5 separate regions of the Homo sapiens genome follow, and all the other regions are linked to region 1. The links are contacts of gene promoters, found by promoter capture Hi-C in blood cells and fetal thymus (Javierre and others, 2016). All regions are on one chromosome and are shown on one strand. The core of a region is centred on a gene start or on the middle of the fragment in contact, and the rest is flanking DNA. Distances in the headings are between cores, read along the strand shown. Region 1 holds the start of NGRN (neugrin, neurite outgrowth associated). Region 2 has its middle 3.9 kb from the start of MESP2. Region 3 overlaps CRTC3-AS1 (CRTC3 antisense RNA 1). Region 4 overlaps CRTC3 (CREB regulated transcription coactivator 3). Region 5 overlaps CRTC3 (CREB regulated transcription coactivator 3).

Region 1 (2,873 bases), core at 165-2,664:
TACTCCAGCCTTGGCGACAGAGTGAGACCCCCAACTACCAAAAAAAAAAAAAAAAAGTACCCACAGGAGAGTGGGTGGGACAAATAATTCTCAATGTGTATACCATGTTATACTGTTAGGTTGAGCCATATGTAATACTTTACCTACTCAAAACAAAAAAACTTAAAAACTCTTTTAAGCTTTCCTAAATTATAGATCCTGTCTTCAGAAAAATGCACCTACCTATGGAAGCACCAGCATCCCTGTACCTTAGGTTGGGAACGTCACAACCTACATTCAAGGGTTAAATGTTGTGATGTCTGCGATTTACTATTTAAAAATTTCAGTAAAAATGAACCAACCACGTCATAACGTTAAAAACTATTAAAACCAGGCGGGGCGCAGTGGCTCATGCCTGTAATCCCAGCACTCTGAGAGGCCGAGGCGGGAGAATCACTTGAGGTCTGGAGTTCGAGGCGATAGCGAAACCCCGTCTCTTTAAAAAACAAAACAAAACACTATTAAATCTAGATAATGACAGGGTTAGGGAAGTTCGTTATATTACTCTACTTTTCTGATAATAAATTTCAACGACAAAAAGTAAACGAAAATATAAAAGCAGTATCAAAAAAGCCAAACCCGTTTCTGGGCTCCAGCATCCTTCACTTCTCATCACAGCGGATACAAACAAGGTATCCTGAGTCTCACCGTATCTGCTCCATGGCTTCCCACGTCAGGGTCCTGGGCGGGGCACCAGGCGCCTCCATTTGCCTCCGAATTTTCTGGAATCGGATTGCTTGTTTCTGTCGTTTCAGGGTGCTGGGGGAAGAGAACCAATGGCAGAAGCCATGCGTGGAAGCAGAATGGATGTTTGAAGAGCCTCAGGCTAAATCATGGAGCGCCCAGCCCTCTTCTCTTTGATCGCAAGGGCAACCGGGCCATGTTGCCGGCTTAGAGCTGCTCCGTACACCCAGAAAGCTAACACCTAGAACAATAACTGCCTGTAAGCATGCCGAACTCTCTAAACTGATGATGAAATACGTCACTAATGAAGGGACCAGTGGTCCCAGGGGAGCTGAACACCTGACGCTGCGCCCCTAACAACGGGTAAGAAGAAACAAGGGCCGCTGCGCAAGCAGCGGCAGGACACCCGGCGCCAAGGGGGCGCGGCCTGGAGCGCCGGGGCACGAGGCCCTGCTTCAAGCTGAGGGCCCGGGGAGAAGCCGGTACCTCTCCACCTCCTGCAGCTCCCGTTCCTCCGGCTCCCAGTCGGAATCGGGGTCCGGCTCCCGGCCAATAGGGCCTGGGCCCGCCACCCCCCGGGTCGCGAACCCACAGCGAGTGACGGCGGCGCAAACGCGCCCGCCCAGCAAGAGACTCAGGGTAACCGCCATGTCGACGCAAACCAGCCTTCAGCAGTCGGCTACGAAACAGCAGCGGAAGTAGCCGGGTAAGACCGGAAGTGGAAGGGGCGGGCCGGAGGCTGGGTAGTAGCAAGTTATTTCCCGCTTCACTTGGTGGGGGTAAGATCTGGGCTCACGCTGCTCAGTGGCCCACCCTTTCTGCCTGTAACTGTGGAGAGGGCTTCCCTGAAACGTGAGGGCCGAAATGAGGTACAGGACGCTCCTGGAAAACTGCATAAACTTTAATTAAAGTACGGATTCCGTTTCCAAGAGCCGTCCCTCCGCCCCAGCGGCTGCCCAGGCCTGCCTGTCTCCGCCACCTCGGTGGGCAGGGCTTCCGCTCGGCAGTCTTCTGACGGCGACAGCCCAGTGCCTTGGGCACTCGGCTTCTCTGGGAAAGGGGCTCATTGTCTCCTGGATGGCCTCCAGCCCCGGGCCGCACCTAGGGTTCAGACCCATCACCTAGCGATAAACCCAGGCTAAGGCTTGATGAGCAGAAATGAGTACATGGCTGGCCTTGGCGCCTCTTCATCTTCTAGTCTTTACCGATCCCCAATTAATCTTAGGGTATTGAGGAATTCTTGGTGTCTTTGTATTTTGCCTTATACAAATGGGGTTCCTGGGCAGGGCTTTTCAAAGTGGAACTTGGTGGCAGTCATTCATTTAGCAAAGATTTAATGCCCTTTGGAAACCTGGGGAGGTTATCCAGGAGAGGTAGAGTGCTTCCCTCCTGCTTTTACCTGAACTGATTGATGTTGAGGAGTGCTCTGGAACGCTGCAGCATGGGTGCAGACGCAGGGCAGAGGGGAACCTTGGCTGCTCTGTGTTCAGAGTTTACCATGGAGGGCAAGGTGCATTCAGTCCATGAGTCAGATGCCACTCTTTCCGGTTGCAGAAAATAGCCCTGCTTTGGGGTTAAAGTGGGTGGCACTGATCCTGCCAGGACTCGGTTTATGGCTTCTAGCCTTCTGCTGGCTTGTCCTTCTGCAGTGGAAACATGGATGTCCCTGAGTTGGTATTCACAGAAGAGATTTGTTCACCTCTTTCCCAACTGTGGCCCAATTACCAACACAGAGGAAGGGCATCTCATGCTTCCCTCCACTGTCTTTCCCACACTGTATTGTAATTGGTATGGTATGTCTTTTTGTCCATGTTCCTATTACCTCTTGAGTGCTGGGACTGTATTTCTGCCATTTCTATCACCAGGGTCTAGTGTACAGAAAGGATTAAATAGGCCTGGTGCGGTGGCTTACACCTGTAATCCTAGCACTTTGGGAGACTGATTCAGGTGGATCAGGAGTTCAAGACCAGCCTGGGCTACGTGGCAAAAACAAAATATACAAAAGTTAGCCGAGCATGGTGGTGTGTGCCTATAGTCCCAGCTACTCAGGAGGCTGAGTCAGGAGAATTACTTGAGCCCGTGAGTGGAGTTTGCAGTGAAGTGAGATCAAGCCATTGTACTTCAGCCTTGGCGACAGAGCGTGACCTTGT
Region 2 (2,873 bases), core at 130-2,629, 490 kb after region 1:
ACTATGTGCCAAGTATTAAAACCCTGAGAGGTAGGTCTATTATTGTCTCCACTTCACAGTTGAAGAAACTGAGGCTCAGGGAGGTTCCAAAGCTTATCTGTCAGTCTCACTTGGTTACACAGCAAGTAAGAGCCGAGTAGAATGCGCAACCTGGGCCCCAATGCTGTGTGTCTACTCTAACCTTGCCTGGATTTTTCTCATCCTTCCAGCTGTGGCTGACAGCCCCTCGGGACAGCAGGGCCCTAAGGGCAGAACCAGAGCACTTCTGGAAGGTTAGAGGAAGAAGGTACCTCAGCACCACCCAAGATAGTTCCTCCTTTAGGAACTGTGAAAACTGAAGCTCAGAAAGAGTGACTTGCCTGATGCCACAGGGCGTGTCAGAGGCAACGGGCAACCTTGCAGGATGAGAGGGGAAAGCCCCACACGCCAAGAGCTCAAGCCCAGGAAATCAGGCAGCTCATGCTCTGTGCTGCCTCTCCCTTTCTCTCAAGCTGGACTGTTGCAGTGGCCTCCTGCCTGGTTCCATTTCTATGAAGCGGCCGAAGGGACTGAGAGCAGACTTCTTACCAGCTCACCCCCAACTCCCAACCCTCAGTGCTGCCCATCATTCGGGAAACGGAGGCCAAAACCTCATCACCCACCACGTGGAACTCCCCACAAACTTGCCTCCAAGCCCCTTTCCGGCTCTGTTTGCCACTTTTCTCTGTCATCTCTAGACACTAGACGCTTCTGTTTCGACTTGGCTCATGCTGTTGCTCCTGCCTGGACCTCTCTTCCCTCACTCCTCTTGATAAACTCCTGCATATCCTTCAACACCCAGCTCCAAGGTCACCTCTTCTGCACTCTCTCCTCCCTGAGTCAGCAGATACAGAAGGAAGTTACCACCACTGCTGGCTCCCATGCCCACGGGAGCCTTTGCTAATAGATCTTGGCATCCTTTTCCCAAGATCCTGGCAGTGCCTCTTACTCTTAAGACACCGCAATCAAGGCAGCAGGACTAAGGAATCAGGTAACTCAAGAATGAGATGGTACTGCCAACCTCGCCTCCCACCAGGTTACCGCATCCTGGTCCCTAAGCACCTCACACAAACCCCCATCCTTGTGTTTAGGACCTGGGCTCTGATCATTTATTTCCCTGTAATTCACATTAGTTGGGGAATATTTTCTCTCTGGCACCTAACACATGGTGTTATGGGCTGAATTATGTCCCCATAAAATTCCTGTATGGCTGAGCGCAGTGGCTCATGCCTGTAATAGCAGCACTTTGGGAGGCTGAGGCGGCTGAACTGTGTTCCCATAAAATTCCTATGTCTGGCTGGGCGTGGTGGCTCACGCCTGTAATCCCAGCACTTTGGGACGCCTTGGCGGGTGGACCATTGGAGGTTAGGGGTTCAAGACCAGCCTGGCCAACATGGTGAAACCCTGTCTCTACTAAAAGTACAAAAAGTAGCCAGCCATGGTGGCAGGCACCTAGGCCAGCTACTAGGGAAACTGAGGCAGGAGAATCACTTGAGCCTGGGAGGCAGAGGTTGCAGTGAGCTGAGATCATGCCACTGCACTCCAGCCTGGGCGACAGAGTGAGACTCCCTCTCAAAAAAAAAGAAAAAAAAAATTTCCTATGTTTGGCTGGGTGTGGTGGCTCACACCTGTAATCCCAGCACTTTGGGAGGCCGAGGCAGGTGGATCACTTGAGGTCAGGAGTTCGAGACCAGCCTGGCCAACATGGTGAAACCCTGTCTCTACTGAAAATACAAAAATTAGCCGGGCATGGTGGCAGGCATCTGTAATCCCAGCTACTCAGGAGGCTGAGGCAGGAGAATCGCTTGAACCCGGGAGGCAGAGGTTGCAGTGAGCCGAGATTGCACCATTGCACTCCAGCCTGGACGACAGAGCAAGACTCTGTCTCAAAAAAAAAAAAAAAAAAGAAGTTTCTTATGTTTAAGCCCTAACATCCAATACTTCGGAATGTAACTGTGACTGTATTAGAAGAAAGATCCCTAAAAGAGTAAATACAGTTAAATGGGTCCCTTAGGGTAGGTCCTGATCCAACATGACTAGTGCCCTTATAAGAAATCAGGACACAGACAATAGAGACAGATGTGTGACCATGTAGGGGCTCAACGAACAGGCAGTCATCTGCAAGCCACAGAGAGAGGCCCCAGAAGAAACTGAACCTGCCTACACCTTGATCTTGGACTTCTAGCCTCCAGAATTGTGAGAAAATAAATTTCTGTTGTTTAAGCCACCCAGTCTGTGGTTGTTGTTTTTTTAAGTTTTTTGTAGGGACAAGGTCTTGCTATGTTGCCCAGGCTGGTCTCGAATTCCTGGCCTCAAGGGATCCTCCCACCTCAGCCTCTCAAAGTGCTGGGATTACAGGCGTAAGCCACTGCACTCAGCCCGTGGCATTCTAGTATGGCAGCCCTCGCAAACTAATACACTGGGCCTAGCACGTAGGAACCACTCCCAGTATTCTTTGAAGAAAATTTCATGTCATTGTGAAAGAGCCCTAAATGACAGGTCTCTGGGACTGTGGTCTCCCCATTTGGGGCTCCTGTCTGTCTGTCCACAGCTGCATGCACCCACCCCAGCAGTCACCAGGAATGCACCCGAAGAACACAAAAGGGCAGTGGTGATGTGGCTGAGGCAAGTGGGCAGGCCCAAGCTTAGCCCACCTGTGCTACCTTGCACAGCAAGCCAGGTGGAGCTTTTGGCCCTGGAGCTCCAGTGCAATAAATATGGTCAAACTGACAAATGAGGGCCCACCCAAACCTTGGCAGGCCTGGATTAGAGAAGGAAAGAGCAGCAGAACTTGTTCCCCACAGAAGGAAAACATGTTTCCTTTTCCAGAGGCAAGAAAAACCCAGGTTGATGAA
Region 3 (2,873 bases), core at 229-2,728, 410 kb before region 1:
GGGAACAGTTCCTTCTTTTTTTTTTTTTGAGATGGAGTCTTGTTCTGTTGCCCAGGCTGGAGTGCAGTGGTGCAATCTCAGCTCACTGCAACCTCTGTCTCCCAGGTTCAAGCAATTCTCCTGGTTCAGCCTCTGGAGTAGCTGGGATTACAGGCACGTGCCATCACACTCAGCCAATTTTTGTATTTTTAGTAGAGACAAGGTTTCACCATGTTGGCCAGGCTGGTCTTGAACTCCTGACCTCAGGTGATCCTCCCACCTCAGCCTCCCAAAGTTCTGGGATTACAAGTATGAGCCGCCGTGCCCAGCCAGTTCCATTTTCTCTATTGCTGAAGGTCCTAGTGGTCACTCGTCCAACCTCCACATTCCTCAATGGCCCACATCAGATGAGTCAGTTCCTTCATCAGTGATGGCAGTGATTGCAGGGAACGCTCAGCCTCCTTGGCTCTGATTCTGCCTTACCAGAAGGGAGCCCTTCTGACTTGACCTCGTGGGTGCCATCGAGTGTGGTTCCAGCTCCGCATGTTCCTGACTACTCCTGCACAAGTCTGGGAGGTGAGGGATGTGGGAGGCGCAGCTCTCAGAGCCTCTTACAGAAACAACCAGCCTGGTGCTGCGGTGGCAAGAAACAGACACTGACCCCCGACCCCAAGGGAAATTCACAAGAAGGCTATGGAGTCCCTCACAACATGGAAGGGGAAATTGAAGAGCCTGGTCTGGAAAAGACAGAAAACAGGGAGGCCGTGGGGACCTAGAAGCTGGAACCAACTGAGAGTCTCATCTGGCCACACTGTAAAGATGTGTCAGCCCCAACCTCTTCTTGGCTTTTGCTTCCTCCATTCAAGGGTCAGAGTCTGAGTGCCTAGGTGGGCCCAGAGCCTTCCCTCTCCAGCCTCCCTGCTGCCCCAGAGAGGACAAACACCATTTCTGACTCCCCTACATACTCAGAGTGCATTCTCAGGATCACAGTAGAGGAAGGACTGAGAAAATAAGTGCTCATGAGGCTGATGGGCTGCCTTAGCTTTATCAGCAGCAGAAGAATTCTGGGATGCTCACCTCCCAGAAGACCCTCCACAGTTCCCAAGAGCCTCTTCATCCATAATGAGGGTGACAAAACTTCTCTGAGTCACAGACAGCTTTGAGACTGGGATGGAAACAGAGGATTGCATAAGTTTCAGGGGGCTGCTGGACCCCCATTCCTGAATCCTAACTCTGGGACACCTTCTCCAGCCCGTGTCTGCCTGGCTTAGCTGCAGGCCTCATACACTGTCTCCCTAGGACCTGCAGTTGAACCATTCCATGCTCACGGACACGTGGATTACATGAGCAGGGCCCTAGGCCTCCTCCTAACCTCAGATTTTTTTTTTTTTTTTTCTAAAAGGGCAAGGCACTATTTTAGTCACTGTTTTGCAGGGAGAAAAAAATCCTGTTTATCCTTATGATTCATTTTGGTGGTTTTTGGATAATGTTGTATTGATTCATGACGACTCACTCAGCATCTGGTATGAATTAAATGAGACTTTCTCTTTTTGACAGTAAAATGAAAGATCTTAAACAACGCTAACATTAAAAAGAGGCCTGGAGGGAATACAAGAGTTGGAGCAATCCTGGGGACTTGAGTCAGTTCAGTGGGATGCCCTACCACCTTGGCAAAGCCAGCACAGTGCCATGCAGTTCCAGGGCAGTGCTGCTTGTGACCTTATGTCTGCTCCTCATGAGTACCACGATGACTCCTTGCAGGTCCCATTGCTTCCCACCATATGCTGTTTTATCTTGTAGTCATGATCCCAACTGGACAAATGGGGAAACAGAGGCAGGAAGCTGGCATGGATGTGACATCAGGAGTCAGATTTTCTCTGGTTTGTTCCAGGAAGTTTTCCGTAGAATCCCAGAGGACATCCAGTGATTCTTAACGGGGGATGATTTTGGCACCCCCAGGGGTATTGGGCAATGTCTGGAGGCATTTTGGTTGCCACAACTAGGGAGGTGCTACTGGCATCTACCTGCAGTGTCAGAACAGCCTCCAAAGAACAAAATGATCCAGCCCACATGTCAATAGTGCCGAAGTTGAGAAACCCTGCTCTAACCCAAAGGGACTCCAAATCCCAAGTGATGTGGTGGTTGTCAGGGCATTAGCAGACTTAATGCAAAGGCCTCTCAATATGGCAAAACAGATTGTCTGAAAAATTATGTAATTTTTGTGTTTAAAAAGAGTAGAACCTGGGCAACATAGCAAGACCTTGTCTACAAACATATTCAGGCTGAGAAAATGAAAAATAAAAAAAGACCCTGTCTTGGCCGGGTACGGTGGCTCACGCCTGTAATCCCAGCACTTTGGGAGACGGAGGCAGGTGGATCACAAGGTCAGGAGTTCAAGACCAGCCTGGCCAGTATGGTGAAACCCTGTCTCTACTAAAAATACAAAAATTAGCTGGGCGTGGTGGCACGTGCCTGTAGTCCCAGCTACTCAGGAGGCTGAGGCAGGAGAATCACTTGAACCTGAGAGGCGGAGGTTGCAATGAGCCGAGATCGTGCCACTGCACTCCAGCCTGGGCAACAGAGTGAGATCTGTCTCAAAACAAAAGACCCTGTCTTTACGAAAACAAACAAACAAACAACAACAAATATATATAGAGAGAGACAGAGAGAGAGTGTCAGGTATGGTGGTATGTGCCTGTGGTCCCAGCTGCTCAGGTGACTGAAGCTAGTGGATCCCTTGAGCCCAGGAGTTCAAGGCTGTTGTAAGTCGTGACTGCCATGCACTCCAGCCAAGGAGACAGTGAGATCCTGTCTCAAAAAAAAAAAAAAAAAAAAAAAGTATATATCTTGCCTAGATCATGGTCTCTGTATGTCATTCTCTGCTAAAAGAAACT
Region 4 (2,873 bases), core at 183-2,682, 350 kb before region 1:
TTACTTATCAGCCATTTAACCCATCAAAAGACAGGCAGTGTGAACAGGTGAACACTGAGGTGCAGAGAGAGAAAAGCTGTGGAAGCTGTGGCTCTACAACCAGCAACGTCAAAAGGACAGGAGTTGCGGATTCCTATTTTGGCTTTCCTGAGACCCTCATATTAAGAAAGGGCAGGGAACTTCATTCTGATTACTAAAAAGTGACTATCCTGTTAAAAACTAAAAACTAGGTTTTATATAGCAATCTGGTATGGCGTGCTGAAGCATCTCTTCATCATCAAGACACCAGTCACTCGAGGTTTAATTATTAAGCCTGACCTGTCCCTGAAACATGAGGACTCAACTGAGGGCTACCATGTGAAACTGCCTGAGTGGCTGGCAGATACCCCATGTGACAGCCCCATTAGTGCATGCTCTCCTCAGACTGGAACAGAAGGAAGGCTTCATGGAGTAGGTGGCACCTGAGGCGCCATTCATTGAAGGATAATGGTGAAGAAGAGGATAACCAACAGCCAACCTGACTGCTCACTTACTATGTGCCAGGCGCTTTACACAGGTGATCTCATGGGATCCCCACAGCAACTCTGCGACGTAGATGCTATTATCATCCCCAAGATCACACTGCTAGTAAGTTCTGGGACTAGAACTCTGGCCCGTGTGTCTTCAGAATGTTCATGTCCCTAACCAATTTGCTGTAGTACCTGGAAGATTTAGACAACCGGAAGCGAAGCTGAAGGGGATGCCCAGTGTGAGGAGGAGGCAGAGGCGGAGGAGGAGGCGGAGGAGGAGGAGGAGGTGGAGGCGGAGGAGGAGGAGGAGGAGGAGGAGGAGGAGTGGGGGGTGGTTGGGGAAGGATAAGAAGGAGAAGGAAGATGGAAGAGTGTGGCTGCAGCACATGGTGGGAGGACTGGGAGATGGGCTGGACCGAAGCAGGCTGCTGGTCATTTGGCAGGATGTAGGGGATGGAAGGTTTCAGTTGGAGAAGTGACATGATCAGAGTTAAGCTTCAGAGACTGCTCTTGCAGCAGAGTAGGAGGTGGATTGAAAGGAGAAAGCCTTAAGGCAGGGAGGCCGACTAGAAAACCAATGCAATAGTCCAAGGCAAACAGGAACCAAGTAGGATACTGGCAGTGAGGACAGAAAACCAGAGGCAGATTTGAGACATACTGCTGGGATAAAATGAACAGGACTCGGCTACTGAATGGGCGTAGGGGCATGGGAATGGGAGTAATCAGATGCAACTCTCAGGGTCTGGGCTGCGGTGACCAGAAGGATGGTGGTGGCAATGACTGATATACTGGCACCAAGCTAACATATCATCAAAATATCCAAGCCTGGATTTTTACTGCTAAATTAAAAACCCACAAGATAGCACTACAAATAAAGGGTTAAAAAGAAAAAGGAATGAGTTGTGACTGGCTCTCTGGAAACAGGACACTAATTTTATCAGTCCCACAGGGATGGGACAGCGATGACCAAGGCTGCAACTGTGTTCCAGGAAACCTCAGAGCCACCGAGGGCCGGTCTCTTCTAACTAAGGGAACCGAGACCATGTTCCTTCTGTGTGCTCCCATGCCTGGCAAATCTAAAATAACTCCCTACACAGCCTTGATTTGCTAAGTAGAAGGGAAGGCAAGGGGAAGACCCCTTAACCATTGTCCTAAAGGAGGCCTCTGGTGTTTCAGCCTCCCCACTCTGGGCCCTCCTGTCCCTGGGTGACACTCTTTTTGCCCCTCTTCAGATCTGGGATGCTTGTACCTGCCACTGTACCCCCGCCCAATCCATGCAATTAACAGGCTTACATCTTTCAAGGTTCTTTGCATTGTAAACCTTCTCCTTAACTCTGCAGGTCAAAGCTTATTGGCAGGTGAAAGGTCACCAGGTCCAAGGCATGCCAAGCCCCCTCCACGCTAAGGAGCTGAGTACTGTGGTCCCCAAAGATGGCAATATTCAGCATCTACAGCCCTGGATGCAGAGAAGACACCTATTACGCACTCTGCTCCCCTTAGCTCTAGACTGTTCCCTGAAAGGAAGAGACCACCCCAGTCCCTCCTCCACATGCCCGATGTCAGGAGGGGTGTTAGGAGACAGTCCTAGGCTATGGGACAGGGCACGTGTCCCACAGAGTCCTGTGCTTCCCTATCTGCATGTAAGTGTGAAATGGTCATTAAGGTGCACATGCTGCCAGGGAAATGGCCAACATTCCCTCTTTATAGATTCTGAATAATTAAACAAAAAGAGAGAAATTATAAAAATCCTGTTTGGTTCCATAAAAATTTATTTCTGTCATTTATACCAACTGCTTATCATTTATGCCTAATTGTCATGGAACTCAATAGCTATTATGAAAATTACTCAACATGTATCAGGCTTTGTCTTCTTGTGACACAAATCTCCACTCATGAATGTATCATAGTTTATTGCTCATGTAGTTAAGCCGTGAGCAGATGCTCTCCTCATGGGCTCACAGCAACAGCAACAACAATAACAAAAAAGTGTGGCTGCATCATTCTGCCTAGGAGAGATTCCCAGGGAAAGAAGAGTTATTATTGCTTCGAACATAGAACCCAGTTCTGGGCTTCAATTATATTTTCCCATCACTGTTTAAATCTTTCTTTGGTTGGTCCTATAAGAAATACCTTTTTGCAAAGCCAGTTGATAGTTTTAAAATCCAAAAGGAAAGAAAATGAAAAACTTTAATGAAACACAGGAGGAAAATACATGAAACTATTTAAAATAGCTCCCACCAACAAATATAATTCTCCAGAAATAATTTCCATCCTTGGAGACTTGAATAATATTTTAAACACTGGCTTTCCCATGTAAACACATCCATATTAGGATGTGTTTCTGAGTTCTGCTATACTTGCAAG
Region 5 (2,873 bases), core at 158-2,657, 300 kb before region 1:
AATTTCATGAATGACAAGATGGCAGAGTAAGAGATACTGAGAGAGACAAGCACAGGCATGGCCAGTGCCCAGCAGCCACTGCAAGGGGGAGTCACAGCCTGTGTGGCCTGGTCTGCTCCTGTTGGCCCACCCCATTCTCACTGGCTTTCTGACCTTTTGGCTCCTGCTTGCGGCTGGTCTGGCTTGCCCCCTCCAGTGTCAACTGACCCCCCTCTTCCATCCAGGCTGTTGCCTCCCAACTCTGGCCTTTCTTAACCAAGTTCCAGGGTGAGACTCTCAGTTCAGGCGAGTTAAGACTCACCCAAGGAGAGACTTCCTAGGTAGTCAAGGGAAGGAAAGTTTGATTTGGACTAAAAGTAGTAAAAAGATTTCTCAGGTGGCCGGGGGAGTGAATAAGCAGAATATATTCTAAGACGAGAAACCAAACAAAAGTGGTACTAAACTGGGCATACGATGGTTCCAGGGGACTAGAAAACGGCATCTATCCAGACTGAGAAAAACAAAGCATAAAACACGTTTCCTAGGTAAAAACAAATTGGTTTTGTGTGTCTACACTTGCTTAATTTGCAAAATAAGAGCAAAGGCCCGAGAAAGATAAACCTGGGTTTGAGTCCTGACTGTCACTTGCCACTTGTGTGACCTTGGGCATGTTACTGTTTAAGCATCAGTAAAATGGGGATGATAATGCCTATCTCAGAAGGTTGATGTGGGAACTCAATGATATCAGGTACACAAAGCATAGCTCAGGTACTCAGTAACTGTTCGTGTTCTTCTCCTCACCACTCTTAAACTTCTGTCATATGTCTGTGGGGAAGTGTTTTCCCTTGCACTCAAGAAAACTAGCATAAAAGAAAGTGGTTACCCTGGTGACTTCCTCCAAAGAGGTTACAGGAGAAAATGGGGAGGGGAGAGCTTTCTCAAGTCACATCCCCAAGAGGCTGGCGGTAGAGACAGAAAAGAGCTAAGACATTAGCTATCTGTTGTCGAGGCAGCCAACTGCTTATAGCCAGGGAGTTCCTTGAGGCACTGACTATTGCCTTTGAGCAGGGAAATAATTACAATGTCTGGCATCAAGGCCTGTGTAGAATCTTCCACAGATGTTATTCTGTCTCTTGGAAAATATCCACAGTAATAATAAACAACTAAAGCTTCATTTTAAGTTTAAAGTATAAAAACTAGCTGTTTCATAACATAGGGACCAATTCTAACTCCTGACTATTGTGAAATTTTGTAGGGAATTGGAACAAAACTTTGGCTGGTTCTACAGCCAAAACATGTAGGGACTTAAAATTCTAGTTAGAGATAATCACTACTTTAAATGTAGTGCCTCTTCTCCCTCTTTTGTGAGCTGGCAGTCAGAGGCTGGATTAAGGAGATAGGTAAGAGGATTGCTTCATACTAATATGATTGAATTTAACACAGATTCAAAATGCGAGGGAATATAGAGACCTAGCTTCTTTCCTGGTCCTACACTGCCACCGCCCACATGTGCCTTCTCTGTGGGTATTCTTTCTGCCTCTCTTGAAAGCTGCACTGAGTCAAGGCACTAACATACAGCCTGGTTGACTTCAGGACAGGCCGATTAAGACTTCAGCAAAAGTATTTTTATCTAGTCTGTGAAGAATTAGTAGGATGCAACTAGCCTGTATGACATTTAAGAAGCTTCATATAATGAACAGCAAAAGCTTAGTTCTCTAGGCCTAGGTAGGATACCTGCAAAGAAAGAGGCAAATGGTACCAACAATCTATTGAAGTCAAATTAGAAGGCTGCAACAGGGAGTTTATACTAGGAACTTTGCAATATGTATTGAACAACAACTGTGCTGGGCATTATTCTAAGGATTTACATGCATTACCTAACTTAATCCTCCCAATAGCTCTATCTTAGGTACTATTAGTAGCCACATCTTGCAGATGAGTGAGCTGAGACACAGAGAGACTAACGATCTTGTCTACGATCCAGTGCTAGTTAGTGGTGGAAGTGGTCACCAGATCCCCACTCTAGGGACTGCACTTGTGACCATCAACATGAAAATTTTGTTTATTTTGACATATTGGATGGCAGGTCATAGAGACTTATGACAGAGACTTACTAAATTGCTTGATCAAGAAAAGGGCTTGTATGGTATTAAATTTTGTTGACCAATTTTGTTGAACCCCCCAAGCGGCTTACAAGACAGTTCTTATGTGAGACATCTCCACAAACTAAACCTGAACCTGCAGGGTGCAATCAGGAGCCTTGGTAATTCATTCCAGGACTTTTATTGTTCAGACTCAAACAGGACCTGCAGCTCCAGCAGGCAGCATCTGGGCGCTGCTCTCATTCCCTATTGTTCTGACAGCCAGACCTTTGAGGATCTGCAGAGCTGGTGGCCTGATAGGAAGTCACACGATTTCAGAAGAGCCTGCCAGGTTTTGACCATATGAATTATGTGTCTAGTTTCTGAGGCTGCCTCTGGAGTTAACCCCACAGGGGATATCTGAAGTATTCATCGTCTGCCCCAATCATGCTGCGTAGCTGAGGAGGGTGGAGTAAGCTAAAAGCGAATTCTGCCCACAGGGAAGACAACGGATGCCTGGTAACTTGGAGCTAAGCCCACAAATTCCAGAACTCTTTTGAAATTTCTGATTATGTGGCCAAAGTCTGGGAAATGTTTGGGTCTACTTGGCTCTGAGAAAACACATTCTCTTTCAAGAATCTGGTAGAACCAAGGATGAGAGCCATCATCAGTGACGTAAACTGGAAGTCAGGATTTAGAGGTGTCCTGACTGAATGGACATCCCACAGAGTTCCAGCCCTCAACAAATACTAGCTGAATGAATAAATCCCTATTCTCAAGTATTTGATCAACCACCAAACCTGGAGCGCTAAC

What was found. The method cuts DNA at HindIII sites, captures the fragments that hold promoters and counts their contacts. A CHiCAGO score of 5 or more calls a contact.
Region 2: a contact is called between a fragment that was not itself captured here and the fragment with the promoter of NGRN in region 1, in 1 of 17 cell types (neutrophils). The highest score is 5.6, in neutrophils.
Region 3: a contact is called between a fragment that was not itself captured here and the fragment with the promoter of NGRN in region 1, in 1 of 17 cell types (monocytes). The highest score is 5.2, in monocytes.
Region 4: a contact is called between a fragment that was not itself captured here and the fragment with the promoter of NGRN in region 1, in 1 of 17 cell types (monocytes). The highest score is 5.6, in monocytes.
Region 5: a fragment that was not itself captured here is called in contact with the fragment with the promoter of NGRN in region 1 in 5 of 17 cell types (naive B cells, erythroblasts, total CD8 T cells and 2 more); the score reaches 7.1 in naive B cells.

What each region holds. Positions count from the first base shown.
Region 1 is chr15:90,264,213-90,267,085 of GRCh38, reverse strand. NGRN (neugrin, neurite outgrowth associated) reads right to left here and starts at 1,414. Exons shown (of 3, transcript NM_001033088.3): 1 at 1,210-1,414; 2 at 688-798. The coding sequence starts at 1,373. TTLL13 (tubulin tyrosine ligase like 13) reads right to left here. Exons shown (of 15, transcript NM_001396017.1): 15 at 1,609-2,366. The coding sequence ends at 2,119. It also overlaps a transcript of CIB1 not described here. RefSeq lists enhancers at 460-1,430, 1,224-1,453, 1,814-1,943, 1,431-2,402. The HindIII fragment of the contact is 8,147 bases long and covers 182-2,873 here.
Region 2 is chr15:89,778,777-89,781,649 of GRCh38, reverse strand. No RefSeq gene overlaps it. Among named protein-coding and RNA genes, the nearest start is that of MESP2, 3.9 kb to the right of the region's middle. The HindIII fragment of the contact is 2,570 bases long and covers 95-2,664 here.
Region 3 is chr15:90,679,247-90,682,119 of GRCh38, reverse strand. All of the region lies in intron 2 of CRTC3-AS1 (CRTC3 antisense RNA 1), which reads left to right. Among named protein-coding and RNA genes, the nearest start is that of LINC01585, 20 kb to the right of the region's middle. The HindIII fragment of the contact is 4,674 bases long and covers 1-2,873 here.
Region 4 is chr15:90,609,988-90,612,860 of GRCh38, reverse strand. All of the region lies in intron 6 of CRTC3 (CREB regulated transcription coactivator 3), which reads right to left. Among named protein-coding and RNA genes, the nearest start is that of LINC01585, 49 kb to the left of the region's middle. The HindIII fragment of the contact is 852 bases long and covers 1,007-1,858 here.
Region 5 is chr15:90,560,146-90,563,018 of GRCh38, reverse strand. The region is part of intron 2 of CRTC3 (CREB regulated transcription coactivator 3); the gene reads right to left. Among named protein-coding and RNA genes, the nearest start is that of CRTC3, 32 kb to the right of the region's middle. RefSeq lists an enhancer at 1-138. The HindIII fragment of the contact is 514 bases long and covers 1,151-1,664 here.